Linked DNA regions of Homo sapiens: regions 2 and 3 are each linked to region 1. Evidence: promoter capture Hi-C in 16 types of primary human blood cells and fetal thymus (Javierre and others, 2016). All regions are on one chromosome and are shown on one strand. The core of a region is centred on a gene start or on the middle of the fragment in contact, and the rest is flanking DNA. Distances in the headings are between cores, read along the strand shown. Region 1 holds the start of SLC38A8 (solute carrier family 38 member 8). Region 2 holds the start of ATP2C2-AS1 (ATP2C2 antisense RNA 1). Region 3 overlaps ATP2C2 (ATPase secretory pathway Ca2+ transporting 2).

The links. Contacts are between HindIII fragments. The CHiCAGO score rates a contact against its expected background, and 5 or more counts as called.
Region 2: a fragment that was not itself captured here is called in contact with the fragment with the promoter of SLC38A8 in region 1 in 2 of 17 cell types (M2 macrophages and M1 macrophages); the score reaches 7.1 in M2 macrophages.
Region 3: a contact is called between a fragment that was not itself captured here and the fragment with the promoter of SLC38A8 in region 1, in 3 of 17 cell types (naive CD4 T cells, M2 macrophages and M1 macrophages). The highest score is 5.6, in naive CD4 T cells.

Annotation. Positions count from the first base shown.
Region 1 is chr16:84,039,916-84,045,007 of GRCh38, reverse strand. SLC38A8 (solute carrier family 38 member 8) reads left to right here and starts at 2,213. Exons shown (of 11, transcript NM_001080442.3): 1 at 2,213-2,457; 2 at 2,849-3,039. The coding sequence starts at 2,851. It also overlaps the pseudogene RNA5SP432. RefSeq lists enhancers at 642-1,345, 1,346-2,050, 2,051-2,754, 2,755-3,459. The HindIII fragment of the contact is 8,642 bases long and covers 569-5,092 here.
Region 2 is chr16:84,464,378-84,469,469 of GRCh38, reverse strand. It overlaps ATP2C2-AS1 (ATP2C2 antisense RNA 1), which reads left to right and starts at 2,109. Exons shown (of 3, transcript NR_146503.1): 1 at 2,109-2,166. The HindIII fragment of the contact is 1,227 bases long and covers 2,244-3,470 here.
Region 3 is chr16:84,443,746-84,448,837 of GRCh38, reverse strand. ATP2C2 (ATPase secretory pathway Ca2+ transporting 2) reads right to left here. Exons shown (of 27, transcript NM_014861.4): 16 at 2,408-2,509; 17 at 149-305. Among named protein-coding and RNA genes, the nearest start is that of ATP2C2-AS1, 21 kb to the left of the region's middle. The HindIII fragment of the contact is 223 bases long and covers 1,217-1,439 here.

The DNA.
Region 1 (5,092 bases), core at 964-3,463:
TCCCAGCTCAGCGCTGACCTAGGTCTCTATCCTAGGGAACCCCAGTCCCCGGGGCCCTTCCCGGGAGCACTGGCTCATGCACCTGCCACTGGGAGTCTCCACTTCCCAGAACATCCTCCCAGCCCTTCACCAATGGTGCACAGATATCCCCTCAGCCCCCACACTTTCTCCAGGAAGCCCCTCCAGATTCACCTCCATTCTTGGGTCTCGTAGTCCGGTCCTCCCATTGGGCTTGGGTGGCTTGTCTCTTCTTGAGCTCCCCACGGGACCGTCCCCTTCTCTGGAGGAGCCTTCTCTTTCACCTTTGAGCTCCAGTGCCTGCATACAGTAGGCACTCAGTGTTTGTTGAATGACTGATGAGAACTCAAACAGATCTCAGATGTGAGGGGTGTAGTGGGCTGAATGGTGGCCCCCAGTAGAGAGATTTATGCCACGCCCTGGAACCTGTGACTGTTAACGTTATTTGGAAAAAGGGTCTTTGCAGATATAAGTAACGATCTTGAGATGGGATCATCTTGGATTATCTGGGTGGGCCTTTCTGAAAAGAGAAGACACAGAGGAGAAAGCTTGGGAAGATGATGCTGGCAGAGACGGCAGCAATGCAGTCACAAGCCAGGGAGTGCCTAGGCCCCCAGGAGCTGGAAGAGGCAGGAAGGATCCGCCCTCCATGGCCTCCAGAGGGAGCATGTCCCCATTGATACCTTGACCAACTTCTGACCTTCAAGACCATGACAGAATAACTTTCTATTGTTCTAAGCCCCTGAGTCTGTGTTGGCAGCCTCAGGAGCGTAATACAGGGGAACAATCAAACGACGTTTCCTTTCCTCTCTTTTCTGGCATTTGTGTATTCATTCATTCATTCATTCATTCTCTCACACACTCATTCAGGCACTGTCAGAGTCCTTGTGGGGCAGGAGGCCGTGTGACATTACAGCCTCTGAAAGGAGCCTGACTCAGGGTGAATCCCAGCCTTGTTGCTTGCCAGCTGTGATGCTCTGAGCCACGTGCTCCACCTGCCTGAGCCGAGTTCCTGCTTGGTGCGGGGTGGGAGTTGGGGGGAACAGTGGGGACACCCGCTCAGGAATCCGCGTGAACTCATCCAGGCTAGGTTCTCAGCAGCACATTTATGCAGCAGTGGCGTGAATGTCATCCGGGTCATTGTCCAGCCTTGAGCTCCGGGACTGCAATCCCGGCTCCCTTTCACTTGCCCCTGCTGAGAAGCCAGCCACTGACTCTGCTGGTTGGGCATTTATGGAGCAGCCATTGTGTGAGCCACAGAGTTTGGAACCTGCCTGCTCATCAGGAGGTAACAGGAGTCGGGGGTTGAGACCATTAGAAACCACATCAAAAAGAAGCCTTTGGGGCTGATCTGGTGTCGGACAGATAAGGACTGATTAGATGCAGCGGGGGGAGGGGTTCTGGGCATTGAGGATATTTAACTGAAAGCAGTGCTTCTCAGCGAGGGGCCGAACCAGCGGCATTGGAGTCACCTGGGAACCCGTTAGAAAGGCAGGTGCCCAGACCCCGCCCCGGAGACACTCAGTCAGAAACAGGGGCTGGGGCCTGGTGTTCTGTGTTTGAACAAGCCTTCCAGTGGATTCTGATGCAAACTGGAGTTCGAGAATGCGGGTGAGAGGGAGCCTGGGTTCCAGGAATAAACAGTCAAATTCCGGATCTGAGCTGCATGTGCCAGCATTTTCCGGAATGGGGCCGTCTCCGATATTCTGTCCCCTTAGCTGACCCCGTATCAGTTTGGAGAGATGTGTCATCACTCAAGCGTGGCCTAGGGACCAGCAGCCGCCGCCTCCCCCAAGCGTTCAACAAGCCCCGTCTCAGGTGACTCGTGTGCATGGGATTAGCTCTGAGACGCACCTGCTGGAGTTGGGTGGAGGAGGTAAAGGAAACCACCTAGGAGGCAGCACCTGCGGACGGTGGAGCCTGTTCTGCAGAGGAGGAGGCTGGGCTCAGGGCACTTTTCACGCCCCCTCCGTTGGGCTGGGGACCTTGGAGAGGTATGTGAGGATGGAGGCGCTGCAGAAGCTGCCATGAGATCATGGTGCCTGCTCCCCTGCCCCGTGTGGCTCCCAGCTGAGCTCCCTGTCACCCTCCAGGGCAGCTGAGAAAGCTCCACCCCCGGGGCCGGGCCTGCAGGGGGCTGGGGAGAGGCGGGAGTCTTAAGCCTTCCTTGCTCAGGTCAGAAGTCTCAAAAGCTGCAAATTCTTGGGACCCATGGCCCTGACCACTTGTTGCTGTCCTCTTAGGTGTGGAGGGGCCTGACCCTGACACATACTCGCTAGGGCTCCTTTAGTTAATGACTCACTCACCCCTGGCCAAGCTCGAATCTTGCTTCTCCCACCCCTCTGGCCCCAAGAAATGCAACTGAGCCACCTGGAGTAAGCCCGAGTCCCATCCCCAACAGCCAAAGACTGTCCGGCACCTTAAAAGTTGGATTTGGTGGTAAGGACCAGGAACTGGGGGTCTGTTTGTACAGAAGTTTGGCTGGAAGCAAAGGGAGTGGATGGGAATGGGGGGAGAGAGGATTGATGGGGATGAGGAAGGTTGGGGGTTTGGGAGAAGAGAGGGAGGGGGAAGGGGTGAGGTTGCCTTGGGGTCTAGTGGGAGGGCAGGAGTGAGAATAATGTGGGTAGGGAATGGGAGACGAAGGGGGACTAGAAGTCGTGGGCAGATGCATGCAGCACCCTTTGGAAAGGGGGAGCTGACGCCAAGGAAGCGGGCAGGAGCGGCTCAGGGAGCTCTCACTGAGTTGGGGAGACAAATAAGGATATCGAGAACTTAGGGAGGAAAGCGTGAAGACTGTGCTTTCTCTCCACCCCTCTGCCGCCTCTAGCCATGGAGGGACAGACCCCAGGAAGCAGGGGCCTTCCAGAAAAGCCTCACCCTGCCACGGCTGCTGCCACTCTGTCCTCGATGGGCGCTGTCTTCATCCTCATGAAGTCCGCGCTGGGAGCTGGCCTGCTCAACTTCCCCTGGGCCTTCTCCAAAGCGGGCGGAGTGGTCCCTGCCTTCCTGGTGGAGCTGGTAAGTCCCCGGGAAGTGAGTCCTGGGGACGGGTACGAGGTGGCTTTGGCTTTTCTGGGTGGGGTTCCTCGCATTGCTTCTGCGGAGTTGCGTGTCCTGTAAGCTATAGCTTCGGGGTTTTATTTTCTATCCCGCTCAGCTAATGAGGGGAGAAGATAATCCCACTGTAGCCCTGGGATGAGAATATCCCCCGTGGGCGCTGGTGGCATCTGATACACAGCTTCCGGGATGGAGCTACAGGCATCGCAGCTCTGTCTGTGAAGTGGGCATTTCACCTGGGAAGGAACCTCTCTGGGCGCCCTGCCTGGCCAGCTGCTCTTTCTTGCCTGCTGGTCTTAGCTCAAAAACTAAAGCTGGGCCGGGCACGGTGGCTCGTGCCTATAATCGCAGCCCTTTGGGAGGCCAAGGTGGACGGATCACCTGAGGTCAGGAGTTTGAGACCAGCCTGGCCCATATGGTGAAACCCTGTCTCTACTGGAAATACAAAAATTAGCGGGGCGTGGTGGCGGGCGCCTGTAATCCAAGTTACTCAGGAGGTGGAGTCAGGAGAATCGCTTGAACCTGGGAGGCGGAGGTTGCAGTGAGCTGAGACTGTGCGCTCCAGCCTGGGCGACGGAGTGAGACTCTGTCTTAAACACACAAAAACAAAGCTCGACTCCTGTGTGCAGATTGAGCCTAAAACTGGTGTGACACTCCCACACTCCCCACACAGAGCCGGGCCGGCCTTGCCTGGTGTCGGATGTTCCGCTCTCCTGCCTGCCGGGTGCAAAGCCAGAATTCCCTTTTGGGGAAGCGCGGACGCCGCGCTCTTCTCTTTGCTGCGGGAGAGCCACTGATGAGCACAGCTTTATTTTCTAAGATCCTTTGCCGCTGGCTGATGGAATGAATTGCTGCATTTTGTGGTAAGCTCTTTGGCCGGCTTTTTCTCACACGTCTTACGGCAGCTGGTGGATAATGGCTGAGTTCCAACCGTTTGTGTGCCCTGAGGCTCTTCGGGTCTGTTTGGAAACTAGTGTCGGGTGTAACCCATGACACCCCTGGCGTTGGCCGAGCTCCTGCCCCGTGCCTGGCCTAGGATGGATGACGCAGTGTGGTCCCTGTCCTCATGGAGCTTTGTTTTAATGGGAAGTCAGACAAGATGCATGTCATCAGCTTCAGATGGTGGATCATGCCGGGAGGGTCATGTGTCTCTGGGGATCGGGGGATGATATGACATGGCGTGGTCGGAAGCCTCTCGGAGGAGGTGACCTTTGCGCTGAGCCCCACTGGAAATGGTAAGAGCTTCCTGAGGTGCACGTGACGGGGCAGCACGCCTGCGTTTGGACTAGTGTGTCAGGAAGCCTGCCATTACAGCAGTGAGGGAGAAGCCCCATCTCAAGCCACAGAGGGCAGGTGGGGCTTGGGGGTAGGGTTGTGGCCAATCCCCGGGCAGCAGGAATGGCCATGAGCCAGAGAGTGGGAACCCTGTTCCACAAGCACCGTGCAGGCATTTCACACAGATCTTGCTGAAATGCAGATGCTGGCCCTGCAGGGCTGGGTGGGCCTGAGACCACATTTGTGACTTGCTTCTGGGGAAACAGCTGTTTTGTTTTGCTTAGGATGAGCTCCAGATCCCTTCACTCAGCAGACTTGAGGAGAAGGGAACCCTGAGGTGAATAAATGGAAACTCATGGCAGAGCAGAGGAGCCAGCCTGGCTCTTGACACGCTCCCGCCACCCCAAGTTGTTCCTTTTAGCCTCCAGGGCTACCGGGGAGATGGAGTTGGGGCTGGAGTGATGTCACTGTGAATGATGGAAGATTTGGGGGAGGCTGCTATCCTCCACTTAGCTGGTGAGGCTTCTGCATGGGGAGCGTTTAAATGTGAAGTCAGTGGGCAGAGGTTGGAAGCCTGACGCGTTAGGGTTGGCGGTTTAGTGCCATTTGATGAAAACAGTCTAGGGCCATACCACCTTGAACGCACCTGATCTCATCTGATCTCAGGAGCTAAGCAGGGTCGGGCGCGATTAGTACTTGGATGGGAGACATTTGATGAAAACGGGCAAATCCCCTCTTG
Region 2 (5,092 bases), core at 1,608-4,107, 420 kb before region 1:
CTGCCTCCAGAGTCAAGCAATCCTCCCACCTCAGCCTCCCGAGTAGCTGGGACTACAGATGCACACCACCACTCCCAGCTAAATTTCGTGTTTTTTGTAGAGGTGGTTTCGCCATGTTGCCCAGGTTGGTCTCAAACCCCTGAGCTCAAGCAATCCACCCACCACAGCCTCCCAAAGTGCTGGGATTCCAGGCATGAACCACCGTTCCAGGCCTCTTACTGACCTCTTTTATCCAGTAGTTCTCCCCGCTTGAGCATGCATCAGATTTGCCTAGAGAGCTTCTTAAAATGCATATTGCAGGTCTGCATTCCTGCTTCTGATGATGTAGGTGAGGATGGGATTAACTCTTGACAACCTTATCCATTTCTTTTACCATTGGATTGTTTTAAATCTCTGCTGGAAGTCTTCAAATTACTTTATGTAATATTGACCCCAAAGTATTGAAACTCTTTTGTAGTTATGTTTTTTTTCCTTTTCTTGTGTTTTCATTTTCCTAGATTGGATTCAGTTACTAATTTTGCTTTTATATTATTCCTGCTTTTCTTCAGTTTTTTTTTTTCAGTTTTTTGAGTTATTTTACTAAATAAAAAATAATGGAAGTAGATGAATACATAAAGCTATTACTTTTTTCTTGGGCCCTGAGTTATTTTGCAGTATTGTATAGATAGGTGTGTGTTGATCATAAGCTTCTAGATTTTCTGTGGCCTTCATTTTGATTTTCTCTTGTACCCAAGAGTTTTTAAATTTTGCTGTGCTAGAGAATTTCCCCTAGTCCTGTCACTCGTCTTTAAATTAGATTGCATAGTGATTAGAGATGTCATCTGTATTATTATTTTTTTAAGACAGAGCCTCACTTCATTGCCCAGGCTGGAGTGCCATGGTGTGATCTCAGCTCACTGCTACCTCTGCCTCCCAGGTTCAAGCGATTCTCCTGCCTCAGCCTCCCGAGTAGCCTGGGATTACAGGCGCCCACCACCATGCCCAGCTAATTTTTGTATTTTTAGTAGAGATGGGGTTTCGCTATGTTGCCCAGGCTGGTCTCAAACTCCTTACCTCAAGTGATCCAACCGCCTCGGCCTCCCAAAGTTCTGGGATTACAGGTCTGAGCCACCATGCCCGACCAAGAAGTCATCTATATTAGATCTACTCTTTGGAATCACTGAGGTTTTGTGTCCTTTCATGTGGTAAGTTAATATAATGAATTTTCTGTATCCTTTGCCTGAATTTCCCATACTGTTTCCTCTTTAAATTTGAATGTTGTGTTGGTACATAGTCTGGCCTATGGATTTTTCAGTGGTGATTATATCTTGTTAAATTTCCTTCTTGGTCTCCTTTAATGCTTTTGGCCTTTCTTTTAATCTTGTCTGATTAGACTGTGTCACCTTGGTCTTGTGTGTTGTTTGTCTTTACCTGGTGTATTTTTGCCCTATGAGTATATCTTATCTTCTTACACACTTTGAAATAATTTTAGATTCATATAGACTTCCAAAAATTGTACAGGAGTTTCTGTCACTCCATGAGTGAGTGGATAAAGAAATTGTGGTACATCCATGCAGTGGAATACTAGTCAGCCATGAAGAAGAACACACATAAAACAACTTGAAGGGACCTTACAGGTATTATGCTTAGTGACAAAAGCCAGTCTTAAAAGGTTCTATACCATGATTCCATTTATGTAACAGTATTGAAGGAACAACATTATGGTGATGAAGAAGGGATTAGAGGTTGCTGGGATTAGGAGGGTGTTACTATAAAAAGTAAGGAGGAGTTTTTCAGGGGCGATGGAAGTTTTGCCTCCTCATTGTAGCAGTGGTTACCTGAATTGATGTGTGTCATACAATTTCATAGAACTTGTGTTGTGGGGGGCAGGAAACCACTCTCAGACCCAGTGATTGGCTAGAAAGACTCAGGACTCAGAAACTGTTGAGCTCAGAGGGAGAGGGTGACCAGTCTCTGCAGTTGCAGCCCTGGGGCTGTTCTAATCTGTATCTTTTCCTGGTAATAGACATGGCTGTGAGCATGACAGGTGTCAGTGAGCTCTGTGTGCCTCATCAACGAATCATCCAACCTGAAGGTGGTTGTGGGAAACTCTTGGACCTGCAGTCAGTATCAGAAGGCCTGGGCAGACTTGGCCAGCCACCTGGAGCACTGTGCCCTTAAACTCAGGTTTGCCTAACATCAGATACTATGTAAAAACCAGTGAAATTGAAATAGGTCTGCTGATAACAATATCATACCAAGCTTGTTAGAACAAGTTTATCTGTGTCTTAAAAAAAAACAAAAACAAAAAAACCCTGGGATTTTGATGGTAATTGTGTTAAACCTAATACAACAATCTCGGGAGAATTGATACTTTTTTTTGAGACAGACAAATAGTATTCAATTTTAAATTTCAGTTTCCAGTTGTTCATTGCTAATATATAGAAATACGACTGCTTTTTGTGTGTTAACCTTGTATCTTGTGGCTTTACTAAACTCGTTGATTCTACGAGGGTTTTTCTTTTTTAAAAAGATTTGTTGGGATTTTCTGTGTGGACAATTACGTTATCTGTGATTTTCTCCTTTCCAGGCTCTTTGCTAATGCCTTTTAACTTTTCTTGCCATATTACACTGGCTAGGACTTCTAATACTGTGCTGAATAGGAGTGGTGAGGCTGGTCACCCTTGGACCTTATCCTGTGGGGAAAGAATTCAGTTTTTCATCATTAAGTATGATGTTAGCTATAGGTTTTTTGTAGATGTTCTTTATCAGGTTGAAGAAGTTTCCTTCAATTCCTAGTTTGAGAGTTTTTATTACAAATGGAGATTGAATTTTATCAAATGCCTTTTCTGCATTAATTGATATAACCATGTGTTTTTCCTTCTTCAGACTATTAATATAGTGAGTTATATTGGTTTTTGAATGTTGAACTTTTCAGTTATATTGGTTTTGAATGTTGAACTTTGGAATGCTTGAATTCCATTCCTCAATTAACCCCACTTCGTCCTGGTGTCTTATATTCTTCGTACCTGGCTAGATCTGATTTCCTCATATTTTGTTGAGGATTTTCGTGCATATATTCATAAGGGATGTTGGTCTCTAGTATTTTTCTCTAGTTTTGGTATCAGAGTGATTGTTGACCTTATAAAATGAGAAGTGCTCGGTCCCCTTTTATTTTTGGAATTCAGTGTATCGAATTGCCATTTCTTTACAAGTTTAGTAAAATTCACCAGTGAAATCATCTGGCTTCAGAAACTGCCTTTTTTGGAAGGGTTTCAACTTCAGCTTATCTATTTAATCTTCAGTGAGTTTTGGTAGTTTTTGGTTTTCAAGCAATTGGTTTATTTCATCCAATTGATTGAATTTAGGTACATAAAGATGTACATAGTATTATTTATTATTATTGTTGGAATATCTTGAAGGGTTTGTGGTGATATACTTTTTCATTCCTGACATTGGTCATTTCTCTTCCCTTTTTTCTTTGATAAGCTTATTGCAAGACTGATAGTTTTATTGATCTCTTCGAAAAACTAGGTTTTGATTGATTTTCCTCTATTTTTGCTTTTTCGTTTGATTTCTGCTCTTTATTTTGGTGACTGTTTCTATGCTACTCGTGAATGGGGTGTTCTACAAGTGTAAATCAAGCTAAGTTGCTTAATGGTGGTGTTCAAGTCTACTGTGTCCTTAATGAAAAGAAGGTCTTAGTTTTAATGTAGTCTAATTTATATTTTATTGTTAGCATTTTGTGTCTTACTACAGTTTTATCCCTAAAGTTTACATAAGCAAGAGTTCAGAGTAATCGACCCTGGTATTTTGATTACTTAATTTTAAATGGGAAGTAAATGTCTCGGGCCAGCAGTGTGCCCAAGGATCCTGAAAAGTAGAGCAAGAATTGTCCCTGACTCAGGGGGAGGCACTCCTTAGCAGACTGTGGAAGTGGCACACTTCAGCCTTGACCTCTTAGTGGTTCCAGGGGTTGGCAGCTTCTAGGAAGACAGCCCCACAGCTCAAAAGGTTTCTTCTCCAGCCAGCCCTGTGTCTGTGTCTCACTAGGAATGGCCCATCGCTGCATCTCCTCCTGTGGCCCTGGTGTCACAGGTTGTAGCCAGAGAGGGGCTTCTTCCCAGGCTGTGAATCCTACTATGGAGGACTTTGGACTCTGCCTGGAACCCTGGCAGGGGTCCACTCTGACCTTCCTTATCTTCGTCTGACCCAGCTGTTACCACCCCTGGTAGCCCTTTTCATAGCTACCGTGGCTGGGTGCAACGGGTACTTTTATCTGACAACTTGGCCAGGCCAAGTTGATTTTCGTCAAACAAACACTGGTCTAGATGGCGCTGTGTAACTAACATGTAAGCCCGTAGACTTGAAGTAAAACAAACAGTTTATCCTTCATAACGTGAGTGGGCCTCATCCGATCAGTTGAGGACTATAAGAGGAAAAGGCTGAACTCCCTTGAGGAGGAGGAAATTCTGCCTCCAGCCTGCATCCCCAGCTCTTCCCTGGGTCTCCAGGATGCTGGCCTGCCCTCAAGATGTTAGACTTGCCAGCCCCCAACATCCTATGAGCCAGTTCCTTAAAACAAATCTCTGCATCTCCCTCCATCCTGTTGGTTCTGTTTCTCTAGTGAGGCCTGACTAGTAAATGGGGGGTTCTAGCTCTGGCCTTATTTCCTGAGAGATGGGGACGGAGTTCCCCTTCTGGTTCCCTTTGGTGGTTCTGGCGTGGCTTCAGGCAGAAGAACAGCATGGAGACCTCTCTCCTCTGCCATCTGTCACGTGGAAGAGCAGATCGGTTTTTGGAAGTCTTTGGGGCAGTGGGAAATCAAGCTTGTCTGCAGGCAGCAGGAGATACTACAGTTCCTGGTTCCGGAGAGAAGGGCCACTTTCTGAGAGAGACTCTTGCTTTGTTGCCCATGCTGCAGTGCAGTGGTACAATCTCCACCTCCTGGACTCAAGCCATTCTCCTGCCTCAGCCTCCCGAGTAGCTGGGATTAACAGGTGTGCATCATCACGCCTGGCAACTGTTTTTTTTTTTTTTTTTAAACTTTTAGTAGAGACAGACAGGGTTTTGCTGTGTTGGCCAGGCTGGCCTCAAGTGATCTGCCTGCCTT
Region 3 (5,092 bases), core at 79-2,578, 400 kb before region 1:
AGGTTCCAAGCACACATTATTGCCGTCAGCATGCTGCCTGACTCCTTGGGACGGGTGACCTCCTTGACTAGGGACCCTGCTTGAATGCACTTAAAAGTCAATGTTACATGCAAGCTTAAAGCTCTGGGCCGGGACCACAGGCACTGACCCCGCAAACCGAGCGACCCCATCCTCTTCTCTTCCTGCAGGCAGAATGACCTCTGCTGGGGCGTCAGCGGCAGGGGGATGCCCCCGTTGTTGTACATGGTGCAGTAGCGGATCACCTCTTCCAAGGCCCCTTTCATGAAGTAAATGTCTTCCTGATCCTTAGAAAAGACAAAGGGAAGAAATCCACTATCACTGGAAGCCTTGGTTCATACTGACCATCACCCCACTCTGCACAAGGTTACAAAGACACACACGGGGATCTTTGCAGCGGAGTTATTTATCATAGGCTGGTGCTGTTCACAGGTGCTGGACAGGTTCGCGAAGTTCTAGAATCCATCCATGGAACGTTTTGCAGTCCAGAGAAAGAACAAGGCCAATCTTCAACCTGTACTACCCTTGTTCTTTTTTCAGTTCCCTTGTTATGGTCACTCAGAGCGTCTTGTATGTTTCATGCACGGGAGGTATCATCCCAGCTGGGACTGTGCCTTTGGGGGTGTGATTAACTGGGAATATTTCCATTAGACTGTTGCCTCCCTAGGGCAGCACCAAGTCTATTTTGTACCCACCCCCAGCACTTGGCTTGTAATAGTGAAGCCACATGAGTAGCTGATCATTTTTCCTGTGTTTTTCTTAAGCTCTGTCATGACAAACATGTAGACTATGAACTCCACGGGGGGAGGCCCTGGGTCAGTGAGAGTCACACTGTACCCCTAGCCTCAATACCGGACATACCTGGCTCACGTGGGTGCACAGTGTGAATGTAACACTGTTATAAGATAATATAATATTAATTATATATGTTATTAATATGTAATTAACATATTAATGTTATTAATAAATATAATATTAATTACAGATGTTAATACATTAATTATAGTACATATGTATTGTATATTATTTATATGTATTATATTACATTATATTATTTATATGTATATTATATATTATATATAACTAATATATTCTTATACAATTATAATATATATTACATAATATATATTAAATAATATATGTAATATATGTAATATATATTACATATTATATAATTAATATGTTAATATAACAAGCTTATATTAACCAACACAGACATCTAAGACATAATATTAAAAGAAAATCTTAGGGGGAAAAAGCAAATTACACACACTATAAATAGTGACCTTGTTTTGAAAATACCATCCAGATGTTGTCGTTTGCATATTTAAAATCTGCAATGCTCCATCCCAGACTTAAAATAGAATTACCTCTGGGTGGGTGGTGGGGAGGGAGGGAAGAAGGGTGGAATGAAAGAAGCTTTCATTTTTATGTCATATTTCTATACTTTTTCAATGAGAATATATTACCATTGCCTTGCAAGGGAAAAGATTTAAAGGTCTAAAAGTTTTTTGAAAATCTATAATCCCTTCTAAGCCCCTGAAATGTACATGTGTCCATCCATGCACAGGAAGGGCCTGGCATGAGCTGGCTGAGCTGCCCACAGCCCTGAGTGGGAGCTGAGCAGTCTGCGTGGGCAGACATGATAGATTCTAGAAAGAGTGGGAGGGAAGAGGAGGGGTGGAGAAAACGGTAGAAGGCAACAAAAACTTTAAAAAATAGCTTTTAAGGAAAATCTGAAAAGCCACAACAAATCTGAAAAGAAAATTTTAAAAATCAGCTGTAATGTCCACCCGGGGTGGCCATAGCTTGGTATGTGTTCCTCTAGCCAGGGACAACACGTGTGCACACGCTGATGCACCACACAGACACGCCTTCCGTACTGAAGGATTTGCTCCCCAGTATGACGGGGAGATGAGCTAAGAAGTATAAAAAACTTAGCACAGGGCTGCAAAGAGAGGACTGGCAAGTTGGCGACTGGTGTTAGCAGCAGGGCCTCAGTCACTGGATTACAGGCTGGTCGATCTCAACATTTGCACCTGCATCAGAATCTGCAGAAAATGAAGGTTACTGGGTCCCACCCCTGGACCCTTCGACTCAGGAGGTCTGGCATGGAACCTGAGATTCTGCATTTCTAATAAAGTCTCGCGTGGTAACAACCGCTGCTACTCCAGGGACCCTGCTTTAAGAACTTCTGTTTTAAACAAAAAGCCAGAAGCAGACCCAAGAGAATCAAAGGTATGATGGTGATTAAGTTTTTCCATGTATTTGGAACGTCACAGAAGCAGCCAGGAACTTTCAAATTATCCTTGAAGTCTGCATTTTGCTTTATCTCTGGGTGGGGGCCCGGGCAGAAAGAGAGAAGAGGTTGAAGATTGAAAGGTCTCACCTCAGTCTTCAGACTGCATTTCACCGCCATCCACTTCTGCTCTGAACTGAATGGAATCTCTTTTTTTCTTATATATGAATTTTTAATATCACTTAAGTCCATCTAGCATAATAAAATGACACATTTTTAGTGAGTCATCCGAAGCCAATCTCTATACAAAGCTCAGTCCATTTAAATTATTCATTGTTCAAACCACCTCTGGCAGATAAGAAATCCAAGCATTTAGCACATAGAAAAAAGGCCATTTCTCTTGGAATGTCCCACCTAGAAAAAAAAAAAAAAGTCTCTTCTCTTGGCTGAAGGGCAGACAAGACGGTCTTTGCAACAGCTTCTATCTGAAATCTGCTTAGAAACAAACCTGCAGTGTTTCTGCCGGGAGGAATGTTTCAGACTTGAAGGTGTAGCAATTTCTCAGACGGAACCCCCTGAGTCAGTGAGACAGCCCTGCGTCCAGAACATGGGGTCCTTGCCAGCCCCCCGTCCACAGCCTGGGGTCCTTGCCAGCCTGGCCCTTTGTTGCTCTTTGGTGGCTTTTGGATCAGTGATGTGACAACTCAGAATCTCAGTTTCCCCAGGTGTAAACCAGTCATGACCCATGCATCCCACTGTCCCACAGGGGGTGAAAATGCGGTGCAGCAGGGGCACAAAAAACTACTCCTTTTACGTAGAAAGTGCAGATATGCGTACAATACAGTGTATCTACCATATTAAATTTCATGGGGAGGGAGTGGGGTGATTAGGGAAGAAATGCCTAAACCATCTCCTTAGTGGGGTTGAATTGTACCCCACAAAAGATATGTTGAAGTCCTAACCTCGGAACCTCTGAATGTGACCTGATTTGGAATAGCGCCTTTGCAGATATCGTCAATTTGAGGCTATTAGGGTTGGCCCTAAGCCAACATGACTGGATATAAGAGGAGGAAGGCCGGGCATGGTGGCTCATGCCTGTAATCCCAGGACTTTGGGCAGCCGAGGCGGGTGGATCACGGGGTGAGGAGATCAAGACCATCCTGACTAACATGGTGAAACCCTGTCTCTACTAAAAATACAAAAAGTTAGCCAGGCGTGGTGGCAGGCGCCTGTAGTCCCAGCTACTTGGGAGGCTGAGGCAGGAGAATCGCTTGAACCTGGGAGGCGGAGGTTGCAGTGAGCGGAGATCAAGCCAGTGCACTCCAGCCTGGGCAACAGAGCGAGACTCCGTCTCAAAAAAAAAAAAAAAAGAGGAAAACGCTGCGCAGAGGCGTGGCGGGGAGCACCTCGTGACAGAGACAGAGCTTGGTGTGAGAGACCAAGGCAGGGATGCGTCTGCGAGTCAAGGAACGCCCGGGGCTGCCAGTAACACCCAGAAACTGGGAGACGGAGCCTGGCCCTGCTCACACCTTGATTTCAACTTCTGGCCACAGAGCTGTGTTTCAGTGTGTTTTGGTTACACTAAATCACCAGCCAGTGGTGTTTTATTTCAGTAACCCCAAGACCCTAATCCAGGAGCAATAATGGAAGAAAAGCCCGGGAACCACTGGCCTGGCCTCAGTGCCATTTAGAGCAGGTGAGACAGGTAAGAACCACAAAGTGCTTGCCCCATGCCTGTCACACAGGCAGCACTTCCTACATGCCAGCCAGTGTTTGTTCTGTATTCCAAAATCTTAAGCCAGGCCCCAGGAAAAAGGAAAATTATAACACATCAAGGAAATCTCTTCTGGGTGCTGGAACCTCTCTCCTCTCTAGGCTGCAGGGACGGCTGGTGGCGGAAGCAAGGTGACACATGGGTGTCATTCCTGCCAGGCGGTCAGGCCGGCACCTTCCCTTCTGGGCGGCGAGGAGTTGTTGAATGGGGCAGACTCAGCACTATTTTAAAACGGGAAATGAGCTCCATTCACTATTACAGACATTGCAGAGAGAATTCTCTTCTGTGAATGGAAGAAAAATAATACGATGTCATGATTTCTGTTTGTTTTTTTGAGACGGAGTCTTGCTCTGTCACCCAGGCTGGAGTGCAATGGTACGATCTCGGCTCACTGTAACCTCCGCCTCCTGGGTTCAAGCAATTCTCCTGCCTCAGCCTCCCGAGTAGCTGGGATTACAGGTGTGCACCACCATGCCCAGCTAATTTTTATATTTTTAGTAGAGATGAGGTTTCACCATGTTGGCCAGGCTGGTCTTGAACTCCTGACCTCAGGTGATCCACCTGCCTCGGTCTCCCAAAGTGTTGCGATTACAGGTGTGAGCCACTGTGCCCAATCTTTTTGTTTTTTTTTTTTTTTTTTTTTTGAGGCAGGATCTCTCTCATCTAGACTGGAGTGCAGTGGTGTGATCATAGCTCATTGCAGCCTCAGACTCCTGGGCTCAAGGGATCCTCCTGCCTCAGCCTCCTGAGTAGCTGGGACCACAGGCATGCACCACCATGCCCAGCTAATTTTTATATTTTTTGTAGAGATGGGTTTTCGCTATGTTGCCCAGGCTGGTCTCAAACTCTTGGCCTCAAATGATCCTCCCGCCTTAGCCTCTTAAAGTGCTGGGATTTGAGCCACTGCACTCAGCCTGTAATGACTTTCCAATGTTCTTACACTGGGGAAAAGCACCTGATCTACCAACACGGGGGCTTATGAGAGGGCGACCACCTCTCCCCCGCCCAGCACCAGCTTTGGGAAGGCAGTGGTGTGGGAGGTTGGAGTCTTGCACTGGAGG